Linked DNA regions of Homo sapiens: regions 1 and 2 are each linked to region 3. Evidence: promoter capture Hi-C in human tissues and cell types (Jung and others, 2019). All regions are on one chromosome and are shown on one strand. The core of a region is centred on a gene start or on the middle of the fragment in contact, and the rest is flanking DNA. Distances in the headings are between cores, read along the strand shown. Region 1 overlaps LIN9 (lin-9 DREAM MuvB core complex component). Region 2 has its middle 14 kb from the start of LINC01703. Region 3 holds the start of MIXL1 (Mix paired-like homeobox).

Region 1 (4,267 bases), core at 1,134-3,633, 78 kb after region 3:
AAAAGACAAACAAACTGGGGTGTTCTGGAAGACAAATTGTCTTCTCAAGCTAGAAGGATTTAATTTGGTAAATCACCAATCCAAAGCACAATATAGTAGCTTTAAAGACTAAAAGTACTTTGAGAATATTTAGCTTGGTTCCAAATTTATTGACCTACCAGAATCTTAATCAAGAGGTAAAATTTTAAAGAAACTATGTTAAAAAGGTTAGTCTAATGTACCTGCCAAAAGAAATAGTGAGACCAAGGAACATGTCAAACTTTTTCTTAGAATGAGAAAAGTACTATTATTCTTTTATTTTTATTTCAAGACATTATTACTTAGAAAGCAAGATTCTTTTTTTTTTTTTTTGGAATTTGAGACAGAGTCTTACTCTGTCACCCAGACTCCCAGACTGGAGTGTGGTGGCGCGATCTTGGCTTACGGCAATCTCTGCCTCCCAGGTTCAAACAATTCTCCTGCCTCAGCCTCTCAAGTAGCTGGGATTATAGGCACCTGCCACCACTCCCGGATAATTTTGTATTTTTAGTAGAGATGGGGTTTCACCTTGTTAGCCAGGCTAATCACGAACTCCTGAGCTCAAGTGGTCCGCCTGCCTCAGCCTCCCAAAGTGCCGGGATTACAGGCGTGAGCCACCGTGCCCAGTGAAAGCAAGACTCTTAAAAATAAGCTATTACGGGCCAGGTGTGGTGGCTCATGCCTGTAATCTCAGCACTTTGCAAAGCTGAGGCAGCAGGATCCCTTGAGCCCAGGAGTTCGAGACCAGCCTGGGCAACAAAGTGAGGCCTCCTCTCTACAAAAAATAAAGAAATTAGCTGGGCATGGTAGCATGTGCCTGTGGTCCCAGCTACATGGGAAGCTGAGGCAAGAGGATCACTTGAGCCCAGGAGGTCGAGGCTACAGTGAACTGTAATCACATCACCACACTCTAGCCTGTGTGACAAAGCGAGACCCTGTCTCAAAAAATAAATAAACAAAAAATCTGCTGGGCACAGTGGCTCACGCCTGTAATCCCAGCACTTTGGGAGGCCAAGGTGGGCAGATCACTTGAGGCCAGGAGTTTGAGGCCAGCCTGGCCAACATGGTGAAATCCCGTCTCTACTGAAATTACAAAAATTAGCCAGGCATGGTGGCACATGCCTGTAATCCCAGCTACTCAGGGGGCTGAGGCAGGAGAATCGCTTGAGCCTGGGACGCAGAGGTTGCAGTGAGCCAAGATTGCACCGTTGTACTCCAGCCTGGGCAACAGAGAGAGACTGTCTCAAAAACAAACAAACAAACAATTATGCTAACATATAGGTCAGCACAGTCGTTTAACAAATGCTTTTAATCTAAATATTTATGGAATGTTTAATTAGAAAGGTTTTTAATCAATAATTTTAGAAATTTTTAAAAATAATTTCTAACAACTGAGGATCAATTCTCCTATAAAAGCATATTAATTTAAGGTTATCAGTGAAAACCAATACTGAAAAGCTACAATGAATCATAACTTAGAAGGAAAATGGAAACACTATATCCAGATTAATTTAACAAATTAGACTTTTAGCTATGGTATACCTAAAAATGCTATACTTCTTACCTTTTAAACTGACAAGGGCTTTTGCTGAAGAGCCTGCAATTAAAAATAAAACAAATCAATAATTATTTCATAACCAAAGTGAGAGAAAAAGACCTTGGTTTGGGGGTAAAAGTGATCCATTTAGTTTTAGTAATGTTGAGTTTGAAGAGATGGTGGAATGTGCAATTCGAAATATCTGGCAGACAATTCAAACTATAAACCAGAACTCAGATAAAGAAAGAACTGGAGAGAGACATATGAGAGTCTTGCTGAAGTTGTGAGAACTGGAGACCATTCCAGGAGAAGAAAGTGAAGAAACAGAAGAAAGAGGAAGAGTGGGGACAGAGGTAATTTTGGATCCTCATCCAGGCGTGCTGTGGTGCTGGAAGAAAAGAGAAAGGGAACCGACATCCATTGAGGCAAAGACTGATGTAGTAATGGAGTGGAAAAAAACAGGCAATGGAAATGATTCAGGGACTGTCAGAGCAAGCAATAAGTCCCTTGAAAGTCTAGAATGCAGGTATATGTGATACTTCAAGATCTAAGCTGGAAAAGGGAATACAGAATGGCCAAGAGGGGCTAGAATAAAGTTGGAGGGGTCCACTGGATAAAACAAACTCCAGTGTACATTAGAGGCCAGGTATGATGGCTGACACCTGTAATCCCAGTGCTTTGGAAGGCCAAGGTGGGAAGGCTAGCTTGAGGCCAGGAGTCTGAGACCAGCCTGGGCAACATAAGGAGATCCTGTCTCTAAAAAAATGTTTTTAATTCACTGGGTATGGGGGCACGTGCCTAAAGTGTCAGCTACTCAGGGGGCTGATGTGAGAGGCCTGCTGGAGCCTGGGAGGTTGAGGCGGCAGTGAGCTGTGACCGTGCCACTGCACTTCAGCCTGACAGACAGAGTACGACTCTGCCTCAAAAAAATAAAAAAGACATTAGAATAACAAGGAAGCTCCTCATACATGCAAAATCTAGACTGAATCTATATTATTAATAAACAACAGGGGATTCTGTTGCAGGTAACCCACTTTGAGAAACATCAGGCTACAGGTTCTGGTGTGAATGAATTATAGGATCTATGGGTAGGGAAAGTAGAAAAATCAATAGAGAGGCCGGGTGCGGTGGCTCACGCCTGTAATCCCAGCACTTTGGGAGGCCGAGGTGGGCGGATCACAAGGTCAGGAGATCAAGACCATCTTGGCTAACACGGTGAAAACCCGTCTCTACTAAAAACACAAAAAATTAACTGGGTGTGGTGGCGAGCACCTGTAGTCCCAGCTACTCGGGAGGCTGAGGTGGGAGAATGGCGTGAGCCCACAAGGCAGAGCTTGCAGTGAGCAAAGATTGCGCCACTGCACTCCATCCAGCCTGGGTGACAGAGTGAGACTCCATGTCCAAAAAAAAAAAAAAAACAAACCAATAGAGAAAGAAGCTTTTTGAGAGTGAGAAAGCACTAAATTTAAAAATCTCAGAATTGGATGTATACATTGCAAAGTCCAAGTCATCTGAAAAATAATAATTAAGGATGATCTCAGGGGATTAAATAAAAAAGAACATGAACTAGGAACAAAAATCAGAGAGGACGGATTAATCCTCCTTGCTATTTAACAAAAGCAGCTATGATTTACATCTCATATAAATGGATAACAGACTTAAAATGAGAAGCAACAGATAAAGTATGGCAGTTATGAAACACTTCATCTCAGATCCTTAAACACTATGCATCTCTGATCACTAAACCTCAACTGACTTTTTCCTCCACAGGTCTGTGTAAGAGACTTGTGAAACAGACACCTATTAGCATTAAAGACACTTACTTTCACTCTACTCTCTTGCCCAGATGTGAAGAATAGTTAACAGGACACCATAAAAGCTTCTGCATGGCAAATGAAGCTTAATGACAAAAGGCAGTAAAGTCATGGGGGTGAATGACATAAAATCTTGCTAAAAAGTCTCAAACAATGAAACACAACTGTAAAGCAGCAATAGTAGACAATACACACATCTGTGTACCAAAAGATATGCAGTGCATTTGAGAAAAAGTAGTAACCATTCACTCACTGAATATGTAGAGTACTGATGGCATGCCAGTCCCTACCTGCTCTAGGCAATGGGAATACAACAGCAAGCAAAATAGTCAAAGTCCCTGCTCTCATGGAATGTACATTCTAGTGATGGGAGGCAAACAAAAACAGCTATCGAGTAATGATAAGCACTCTGGAAAAAATAAAGCAGAAGAAGAAGAATACGCAGGGTGGGGATGGAGGGAAGGAAAACTATTTGTATATAAGGTGTTCATGATGAGCTTCTATGAAAGGTGATGCTTAAGCAGAGATCTGAAGGAAGAGGTATATAGGCCATAAGAATATCCACTCCTGCTCCACGAAGGCAGGAACCATATCTTGGGGATTCTGACCAATCACCTTTAACCTTTTTTTTCTTTTTCGTTTTCTTTTTTCTTTTTCTTTTTTTGAAATGGAGTCTCACTCTGTCACCCAGGTTGGAGTGCGGTGGCGCAATCTCAGCTCACTGCAACCTCCACCTCCCGGGTTCAAGAAATTCTCCCCACCTCAGCCTTCCAGGTAGCTAGGATTACAGGTGCATGCCACCATACGCAGCTAATTTTTGTATTTTTAGTAGAGACAGGGTTTCGCCATGTTGGCCAGGCTGGTCTCGAACTCCTGACCTCAGGTGACCACCCGGCTC
Region 2 (3,914 bases), core at 231-2,730, 130 kb before region 3:
AGGGAGCGAAAGCAGGCCAGAGAGGCAAAGGGGCAGGAGACATGTGAGGGCATTCTAGGTGTGGGGAATGGCTTATGCCACTGTCCAGGTGCATGAACCTATCAGGGAGTTGGGGAAGACAAAACTCTTGGTAGTGGCTGTAGCAGAGCAATGGTGAAGGAGCCAGTCTGCCGCAGCCACTCTTCAGGACTTTGCTTTCCTGGGGCCAGGTTGCAAACAACCTTGAAGCTTGACCAGGGTATGTGGACCTTATCCTAATTTTTATGGGTTTTGTTTGTTTGTTTAATCAGAGACAGGGTCTCTCTATGTTGCCCTGTTTAGTTTCCAACTCCTAGACTCAAGAGTCCTCCTGCCTCAGCTCCCCAAAGTGCTGGGATTACAGGCATGAGCAGCCTGGCCTATTGGAGGTGGTGTGTGTTTGTTTGTTTGTTTGAGACAGAGTCTAGCTCTGTCGTCCAGGCTGGAGTGCAATGGCACCCTCTCAGCTCACTGCAACCTCTGCCTCCTGGGTTCAAGCAATTCTCCTGCCTCAGCCTCCTGAGTAGCTGGGACTACAGGTGCACACCACCACGCCCAGCTAATTTTTGTATTTTTAGTGGAGATGAGGTTTCATCATGTTGGCCAGGCTGGTCTTGAGCTCCTGACCTCAAGTGATCCGCTCGCCCCCGCCGCGGCCTCCCAAAGTGCTGGGATTACAGGTATGAGCCACTTTGCTTGGCCCCTATCCTAGGTTTTTAAGTAGGGAAGTAACATGATCAAGCTTGTCTTGCTCAGAGCTCCCCTCGGAGGAAAGGCTGGAGGAGGTGACTGAAGCTGTTGCCTTGAGGACCCAGTCTGGTCTCCAGCCTCAGTGCTTCAAGGACAGGGTCCTTGCTGTATAGAGCTACTGGTGATTCAGACACAATCCACCTTGTGTTGCCTGCGGCTGACCTCCACTGGCAGGTGCCCTCTCCCTCTACAGTGGAGGTGTATGCGCTCAGGCAATGCAGGCTCAGCCCAGCTGTGGTCCCCCTGGAGGCAGTGAGCCCTTTGAGAGGTCTGAGCCAGGGGTGGTGGTTCACACCTGTCATCCCAGCAGTTTGGAAGGCTGAGGCTGGAGGATTGCTTGAGGCCAGAAGTTTGAGACCAGCCTAGGGAACATAGCAAACCTATCTCTACAAAAAAAAAAAAAAAAAAAATTAGTCAGATGTGGTGGTGTGTTCCTGTAGTCCTACCTACTCAGGAGGCGGAGGTGGGAGGATTACTTGAGCCCAGGAGTCCGAGGCTGCAGTAAGCTAAGGTTGCATCATTGCACTCCAGCCTGGGCAACACAGCAAGACCCTGTCTCTAAGTAAATAAATAAATACATTTTTTTAAATTAAAAAAAAAAGAGAGGGAAATCCAAGCCAAATCCTCCAGGGGTCAAAGTCCTGCTGTCCTCCCCTGCTCTGCTCAACCCCAGCCTACCTCTGTGTGGGGTGGGGGTGTCGGGGGAACCCATGCCGCTGAGCAAGGAGCTCCCTCAGCTGGTCTATTAGTCAGGTGAGGCTAGGTTCTACCGCAGTAAATCAGCCCCAAACTTCAATGACTTCACACAACAAAGTATATTTCTCAATCATGTTATACGCTCAGTGCAGTGGAGAAAAGAGGATGGAAGGGCAGGGCTCTGTTCCACCTAGGGTCTCAGGGATCCAGGTTGCTAGAAGAGCCACCATCTAGACAATCACCAGTCACCATGGCATGGGAAGAGAGGGCATGGAGAACTTACACCTTTTGATCCAGTAGTGACACATGTAAACCAAAAAGTGACTGAGGCAGGTCTCAATTGATTAGAAGCTTATTTAACCATGATTGAGGATGCAAAAAAACCAACAAAACAAAAACAAGTCACAGAAGCATCTACAACCTGTGATTTTTCCAAGGAAGGTTTCAGGAACTTCAGTATTTGAAGGGGAAAGAGCAAGCAGAAGAGGAAAAAAAAAAAAAAAAAAACGGGGTAAGGGGGCTGGGCGTGGTGGCTCACGCCTGTAATCCCAGCACTTTGGGAGATCCAGGCAGGTGGAGCACCTGAGGCAAGGAGTTCGAGACCAGCCTGGCCAACATGGTGCAAACCTGTCTCTACTACAAATACAAAAATTAGCCAGGCATGGTGATGCATGCCTGTAATCCCAGCTATTTGTGAGGCTGAGGCATGAGAATCACTTGAACCCAGGAGGTGGAGGTTGCAGTAAGCCGAGATCGCTCCACTGCGCTCCTAGAAGGGTAGACAATGAGGCAAATGGATACAATCTTAGGTTCCTATTAGCCTTAGTGAATGTACCTTTTACATGTGAAACAGAGGACCAAGTCAATTATGCAAAGTCTTGGGGTAGGAGGAGGGATGATTTCTAGTCTTGTCCTTATCCTGTCCCTGTGAAGATAAGCTGATAATTGACATTGTCAGGGTGAAGTTTAACAGAACTTGATTTTAGAACTAGCTTATAGGGGAATGTGTATTCTGAAAGGTTTAGGGGCCCACAGGGAATTTCCTTGTGAACAATTTGGGAAATATGTAGCCTTCTATTGTTGTGGGAACCTGGCTTACGAATGAGGCTATGACACAGGATTGTGAAACTACCGCTATCTGTTTGGGAACAAAAGGAAGGCAGTTTTTCTGTGACTCAGTTCCCAAACTTAACTTTCCCTTTGGCATAGTGAGTTTGGGGTCCCAAGACTCTGTTTGCTTTCACATATAGGTCACACTTCCGATTATAGCCAATTGGCCAGCACTAGCCCACTGGCCAGCAGCCAGGGTTCTGGAAAGGTAGAAGAGCCCACGGGTACTCAGTGGGCAGTGACTGTCTGTTCAGCCAAGTGCAAGCCAGGTTGGAGAGCAGGTTGGCTCCTGCCTGGACATAGGAAGATGGATGACAAAGGATGCCCAGAAAGGTGTGGGCTCCTTCCCAGTTACCTCCAGCCTCCATCTGCTCTCTGATTCCTAGAGCACAGCTCAGAGAACATCAGTTCCACTTTCCCCCAGCTTACCCAAAATATAGCCCCTACCCATTCTGGCCTCAGCACAACGCTGCCTGATTTCTCTCCACTCTTTCTCCCCTCCCCTCCCCCTGCCCTCCCCATCTCCCCATACCTCCCAGCTCCAACCACACGAGGCTCCCCCTGCTCTGTAATATATACTTTATTTCCTTTACCCCTCCGGGAATGTTCTACCCCTCTCTGCTCACTAGAATCCCACCCATTCTTCCAAATCTAGCTCACTTATCACCTGGTCCATGAAGATTCTTCCCACAGAATATCCTCTGCTTCCTCTCACCTCACAGTCTCCTACAGATGAAATGCCCAGCCCACAGCTCCCCACTGAAGGGGCAGCCCCAGGCAGACCATGTGATCCCATTCCCTATCCCAGCCACAGTGAGGTGGATCCACACGGCCACTCTGTTGCCTGGGCAGTGGCCTATGAGGTGGGGCCTGGTGGGAAGGATGAGATGAGCTAGGTCTATCAAACTCTCTTTAGATAACTTTTTTTTTCTGGAGATAGGGTTTTGCTGTATCACCCAAGTTGGAGTGCTGTAGTGCAGTCAGGGCTCACTGCAGCCTTGAACTCCTGGGCTCAGGCAATCCTACCACTTCAGCCTCCAAAGAAGCTGGAACTATAGGCATGTGCTACCATGCCTGGCTAATTTTTTTAACTTTTTATAGAGACGGCGGGATCTTGCTTATGTTGCCCAGGCTGGTCTGGAACTCCTGGCCTCAAGCAACCTTCCCACCCCAGACTCCCAAAGTGCTGGGATTACAAGTGTAAGCCACTGTGCCAGCCAGCCAGTGTTTTCTTGCTGTGTCCTCAAAGAGAGAAAGGAACTAGTGAGCTCTCTGGGCCTTTCTTATAAGGTCACTAATCCCAGTCATGAGGACTTCACCCTCATCTCATCACTTCTCAA
Region 3 (4,512 bases), core at 929-3,428:
ATCCCAAGTGAAATGGGAAATCCACTCGCATGGAGAAGTAATTTCTTTTTTCTTTTTCTTTTCTTTTTTTTTTTTTTGAGATGGAGTCTCAGTCAGTCACCCAGGCTGGAGTGCAGTGGCGCGATCTTGGCTCACTGCAACCTCTGCCTCCCGGGTTCAAGCAATTCTCCTGCCTCAGCCTCCTGAGTAGCTGGGATTACAGGCTTGTGCCACCACGCCCGGCTAATAATTGTTTATTTATTTATTTATTTATTTATTTATTTATTTATTTATTTTGAGACGAAGTCTCGCTCTGTCACCCAGGCTGGAGTGCAGTGGCATGATCTCAGCTCACTGCAAGCTCCACCTCCCAGGTTCACGCCATTCTCCTGCCTCAGCCTCCTGAGTAGCTGGGACTACAGGTGCCCACCACCATGCTCGGCTAATTTTTTTTTTTGTATTTTTAGTAGAGACGGGGTTTCACCGTGTTAGCCAGGATAGTCTCGATCTCCTGACCTGGTGATCCGCCCGCCTCAGCCTCCCAAAGTGCTGGGATTACAGGCATGAGCCACTGCACCTGGCCAATGGATGTTGGCTGTTTTGGAGATGCTGGGGAATTAACTTTTTTTTTTTTTTCTGAGTCAGAGTTTCACTCTTGTTGCCCAGGCTGGAGTGCAATGGCACAATCTTGGCTCACTGCAACCAAGAGAAGAGGGGGAAAGAAAGGAGAAGGGGTGGAAGGAAGATGGAAGAGCAGGAGGTAAGTATATCAGCTGCCCAGAAGGGCCTCAGGGGCTACACAGGACACAGTCCCTGCCAACCCCACCCCTTACCACAGCCAGGAGAGAATCAAGCCCAAAATTCTTCTCTGCAGCAGCTCCAAGAAAACTTTCCGCTTTGCCACCTGGAATGTCCACCCAGGATAAAAAGATCCAAGCTCTTCTGAGACTGTCTTTTGACCTTCTAGAATGCAGAGACAGGACGGGGATTGTGCCCTGAAAGATCCTCCCAATAAAGATCTCCCTTTGAGTCGACCACAGTGAGTGATCCCGGTGAAATCAGCGCTCAGGTGCTGGGGGCAAAAAGACCTGGGCCTCTGTGTTCCTCTCTTGAGTTCTTGCACTGTGGTGGGGCAGTTCCCATAGTGGACCATGGGTTTCTCTTTCAATAAGGAGAGCTCAGTGACATCCAATTCGACAGACATTCACTAAGGGGCCTAGCACCGCGCCTCACGCAGAATAGGTGTACAAAGCAGACACTCAATAAACTCAGAAAGGGAGAGGTGGGTTCCTGCTTGCTAAGACTTTATATCTAGCAGATAGAGAAACCATAACCATAGCACAAAGTAGAGAAAATGGGAGCTTTCAGAGCCCCAAGGGGCAGAGGAAAGAATGATGATTCAGGGCGCGTGGAAACTTCATGAGGTGGCTTTCATCTCCTCCCATCCAATAGACGGGTCTTAAGCATTGTTGAGTATCTCCAGAAAGGCCAAACTGCGCCGTATCCTCTGCTAATGGGGCACGTTGCCAACCCCGCCCTACCTAGGGTATCTTTATTGGTGGGCCCATGGACATTCCAGCCAGACCCCCCCACTCCCCCCACCCATTTAATCAGGAGGAATGTGCTGCCCCCTGGATCCTTTATCTTCACCCCCCTCCCCGCTTGGATTCAGGATGTGTTAGGGAGGCTTGCAGAAGACAGGGGCCGGGCTGTTTGACCAACCTGGTACAGGGTCTAGCACATAGCAGGGGTGGTAAATAAATAGCTTTGATGAGGACAGACGGGACTAGGGCAAGGCTCAAGGCCCAGGCCATGTAAGGCACAGGCCAGGCAAGGTGCTTCCGCCGCTCTTAACGGGGATTTGACCCGGAGAAGAGAGTTCTGTCGCCTGCGGCCCGCGCACCCGGGCCCCTCCGGGCTGCCCCTCCCAGGCAAATAGTCCTTCGGGGATGTGGATTGCGCCGTCCGGGCGGGTGGGCGGGGAAGAACACGGAGGGGGCCGGGACCCAAGTTCACGCCTCCCTCCTGCATCCCGCAGCCGGCGGAAGCGATTATTCCCCGGCGTCTGGCGGGGCCGGGGGCGGGCTCGCACCCGGAGGAGACACGGGTCTCCCCGAGCCCACCTTTGATCGCACCGCCCCGCCTTCCCAGCCCCTGGCCCGGGAGGGTATAAGTGCGGCCCGCGCCCCTCCGAGCGGCGCGCTGGGTTCCGGAGCGATGGCCACAGCCGAGTCCCGTGCGCTCCAGTTTGCCGAGGGCGCCGCGTTTCCAGCGTACCGGGCCCCCCACGCCGGCGGGGCGCTCCTGCCGCCCCCGAGCCCTGCGGCAGCCCTGCTCCCTGCGCCGCCCGCGGGCCCCGGCCCAGCGACCTTTGCGGGCTTCCTCGGCCGGGACCCCGGGCCGGCCCCGCCGCCCCCCGCCAGCCTGGGCTCGCCTGCGCCCCCCAAAGGCGCGGCCGCCCCGTCGGCGTCGCAGCGCCGCAAGCGCACGTCTTTCAGCGCCGAACAGCTGCAGCTGCTGGAGCTCGTCTTCCGCCGGACCCGGTACCCCGACATCCACTTGCGCGAGCGCCTGGCCGCGCTCACCCTGCTCCCCGAGTCCAGGATCCAGGTGAGGGCCCGCTGCGTTCGCAAGTGCGCGCTGGAGCGGAGGCGCTGCGGACTCTAGGTCTGGACTGCGGGCTCCTGAGGCCACACCCGGGACGTTGCAGGCACGGTGCTTCCCCTGAGGCTCTGCGTACTAGACTGAAATAGGGGGTGATATCGGCACCTGCTGCATAGGGTGGTTGCGAGGCCTGTGTGAAATAATTTAGGCCTGCACTGAACGATTTCTCTCATTATTAAATATAATAAGGGCTCCTAGGAGGCTAGCCGGTCCCCTGAAATGGCCAGAAAGTAATTCCCAGCAGGAAGATAAGAAGTTTTACACTTTTTCTTTATCCGGGAAGAAGACACAGATGAGGGGCAGTTGGGGTTTTCCTCTGGCTTTGAGCGTGAGAATGGTAGCTGAAAACGGGGAAGGCTGGCTCGCCAAGTTACCCCCATGCTACTTTCTTGGCAAGTGTTACGTTTTGGGATTAGATTTGAAAGGATGTAGCGAATTGAGATAAAGCGAGAAGCACCTGGAGCTTGTTTTCAGTTTGAAAAATCTAGTGCAAGGTGTGTTTATTTTTATTTATTTAGTTTTTATTTGAGATGGAGTTTTAACTCTTGTTGCCCAGGCTGGAGTGCAATGGCGCGATCTGGGCTCACTGCAACCTCCGCCTCCCAGGTTCAAGTGATTCTCCTGCCTCAGCCTCCCGAGTAGCTGAGATTACAGGCGCCAGCCACCACGCCCAGCTAATTTTTGTATTTTTAGTAGAGACGGGGTTTTACCATGTTGGTCAGGCTGGTTTCGAACTCCTGACCTCAGGTGATCCACCCGCCTCAAAGTGCTGGGATTACAGGCGTGAGCCACCGCGCCCGGCCGTGTTTATTATCTAAAGTAATTTAGATCAGAATCTTAGAGTTGGTAAGGAGAAGCCTGCCTTTTTGTCTGTCTGTAGCCCCGTGGTCGGTGTCCAAGCGCAGTTTTAAGTAGCAGCCCTCATTTAAACACTGGGAGAGTGGACTTGTTTTCTCTGCACCCCTGGCGGTCATACAGCTGTCAGTCTCAACAGCTGGCATGAGCAAAATACCTCCTTGATTAGTTTGACAAGGGAGTGCAGACCTTAAAAAACAGGTTTTCTTCATAATTTAATGCAGTTTTTTTCTAAGAATTCTAAGTGCTTCCATTTTTGTGACCCCATTTTTCATGAAAATTTCTCTAACTAAAGAGTAGATAGAACTAGGCATTATTCCAATGTTTCCATCTGGGAATGGGGAGGCAAGGAAAGCCAGGTGTTCTGAACTTCTAATCGTCAACCCAAGTGCTTTCTGAAGACAAGGCTCTGGAGAGGAAGCCAGGGGATGTTAAACTGGAACTTACCAGTATGAACTGTGAACATAATGTTAGCATAAAAAACTCCAACCAAAAGCAGCTTTTATTTTCTCCCCTCTTCCAGGTATGGTTCCAGAACAGGCGTGCCAAGTCTCGGCGTCAGAGTGGGAAATCCTTCCAACCTTTGGCTAGGCCGGAGATTATCCTCAACCACTGTGCTCCTGGAACTGAAACGAAATGTCTGAAGCCCCAGCTGCCTCTTGAGGTAGATGTGAACTGCCTGCCCGAACCAAACGGGGTTGGAGGGGGCATCTCTGACTCTAGCTCCCAAGGTCAGAATTTTGAAACCTGTTCCCCTCTCTCTGAAGACATTGGTTCAAAGCTGGACTCATGGGAGGAACACATCTTTTCTGCCTTTGGTAACTTTTGAGGATTCTGGGAGAATTCGGGATAAGCTCTGAGGAGCCATGACTGACAGCCTGGGAGAGACACATCAGCATACTGTCCTTTCTGACTTCCATGCTAAGGACATGTCCTTGTTAACCTTGATGATGGTTTTGACAGCACCTCTCACATTTGAAGGTACCCCGCCACTTTGTCAATGACGTTTTAAGC

The links. The method cuts DNA at HindIII sites, captures the fragments that hold promoters and counts their contacts. A contact is called where the count stands out against the background at its distance.
Region 1: a contact is called between a fragment that was not itself captured here and the fragment with the promoter of MIXL1 in region 3, in 3 of the 25 tissues and cell types used here (aorta, lymphoblastoid cells and mesenchymal stem cells).
Region 2: a fragment that was not itself captured here is called in contact with the fragment with the promoter of MIXL1 in region 3 in 2 of the 25 tissues and cell types used here (IMR-90 fibroblasts and mesenchymal stem cells).

The regions. Positions count from the first base shown.
Region 1 is chr1:226,299,591-226,303,857 of GRCh38, forward strand. It overlaps LIN9 (lin-9 DREAM MuvB core complex component), which reads right to left. Exons shown (of 15, transcript NM_001366245.2): 2 at 1,583-1,615. Among named protein-coding and RNA genes, the nearest start is that of LIN9, 7.4 kb to the right of the region's middle. The HindIII fragment of the contact is 3,558 bases long and covers 605-4,162 here.
Region 2 is chr1:226,095,545-226,099,458 of GRCh38, forward strand. No RefSeq gene overlaps it. Among named protein-coding and RNA genes, the nearest start is that of LINC01703, 14 kb to the left of the region's middle. The HindIII fragment of the contact is 4,552 bases long and covers 1-3,756 here.
Region 3 is chr1:226,221,486-226,225,997 of GRCh38, forward strand. MIXL1 (Mix paired-like homeobox) reads left to right here and starts at 2,179. Exons shown (of 2, transcript NM_031944.3): 1 at 2,179-2,589; 2 at 4,022-4,512. The coding sequence starts at 2,197. The coding sequence ends at 4,327. LOC124904528 (a long non-coding RNA gene) reads left to right here and starts at 654. Exons shown (of 2, transcript XR_007066907.1): 1 at 654-739; 2 at 854-1,013. RefSeq lists an enhancer at 2,498-2,557 and a silencer at 2,603-2,897. The HindIII fragment of the contact is 15,954 bases long and covers 1-4,512 here.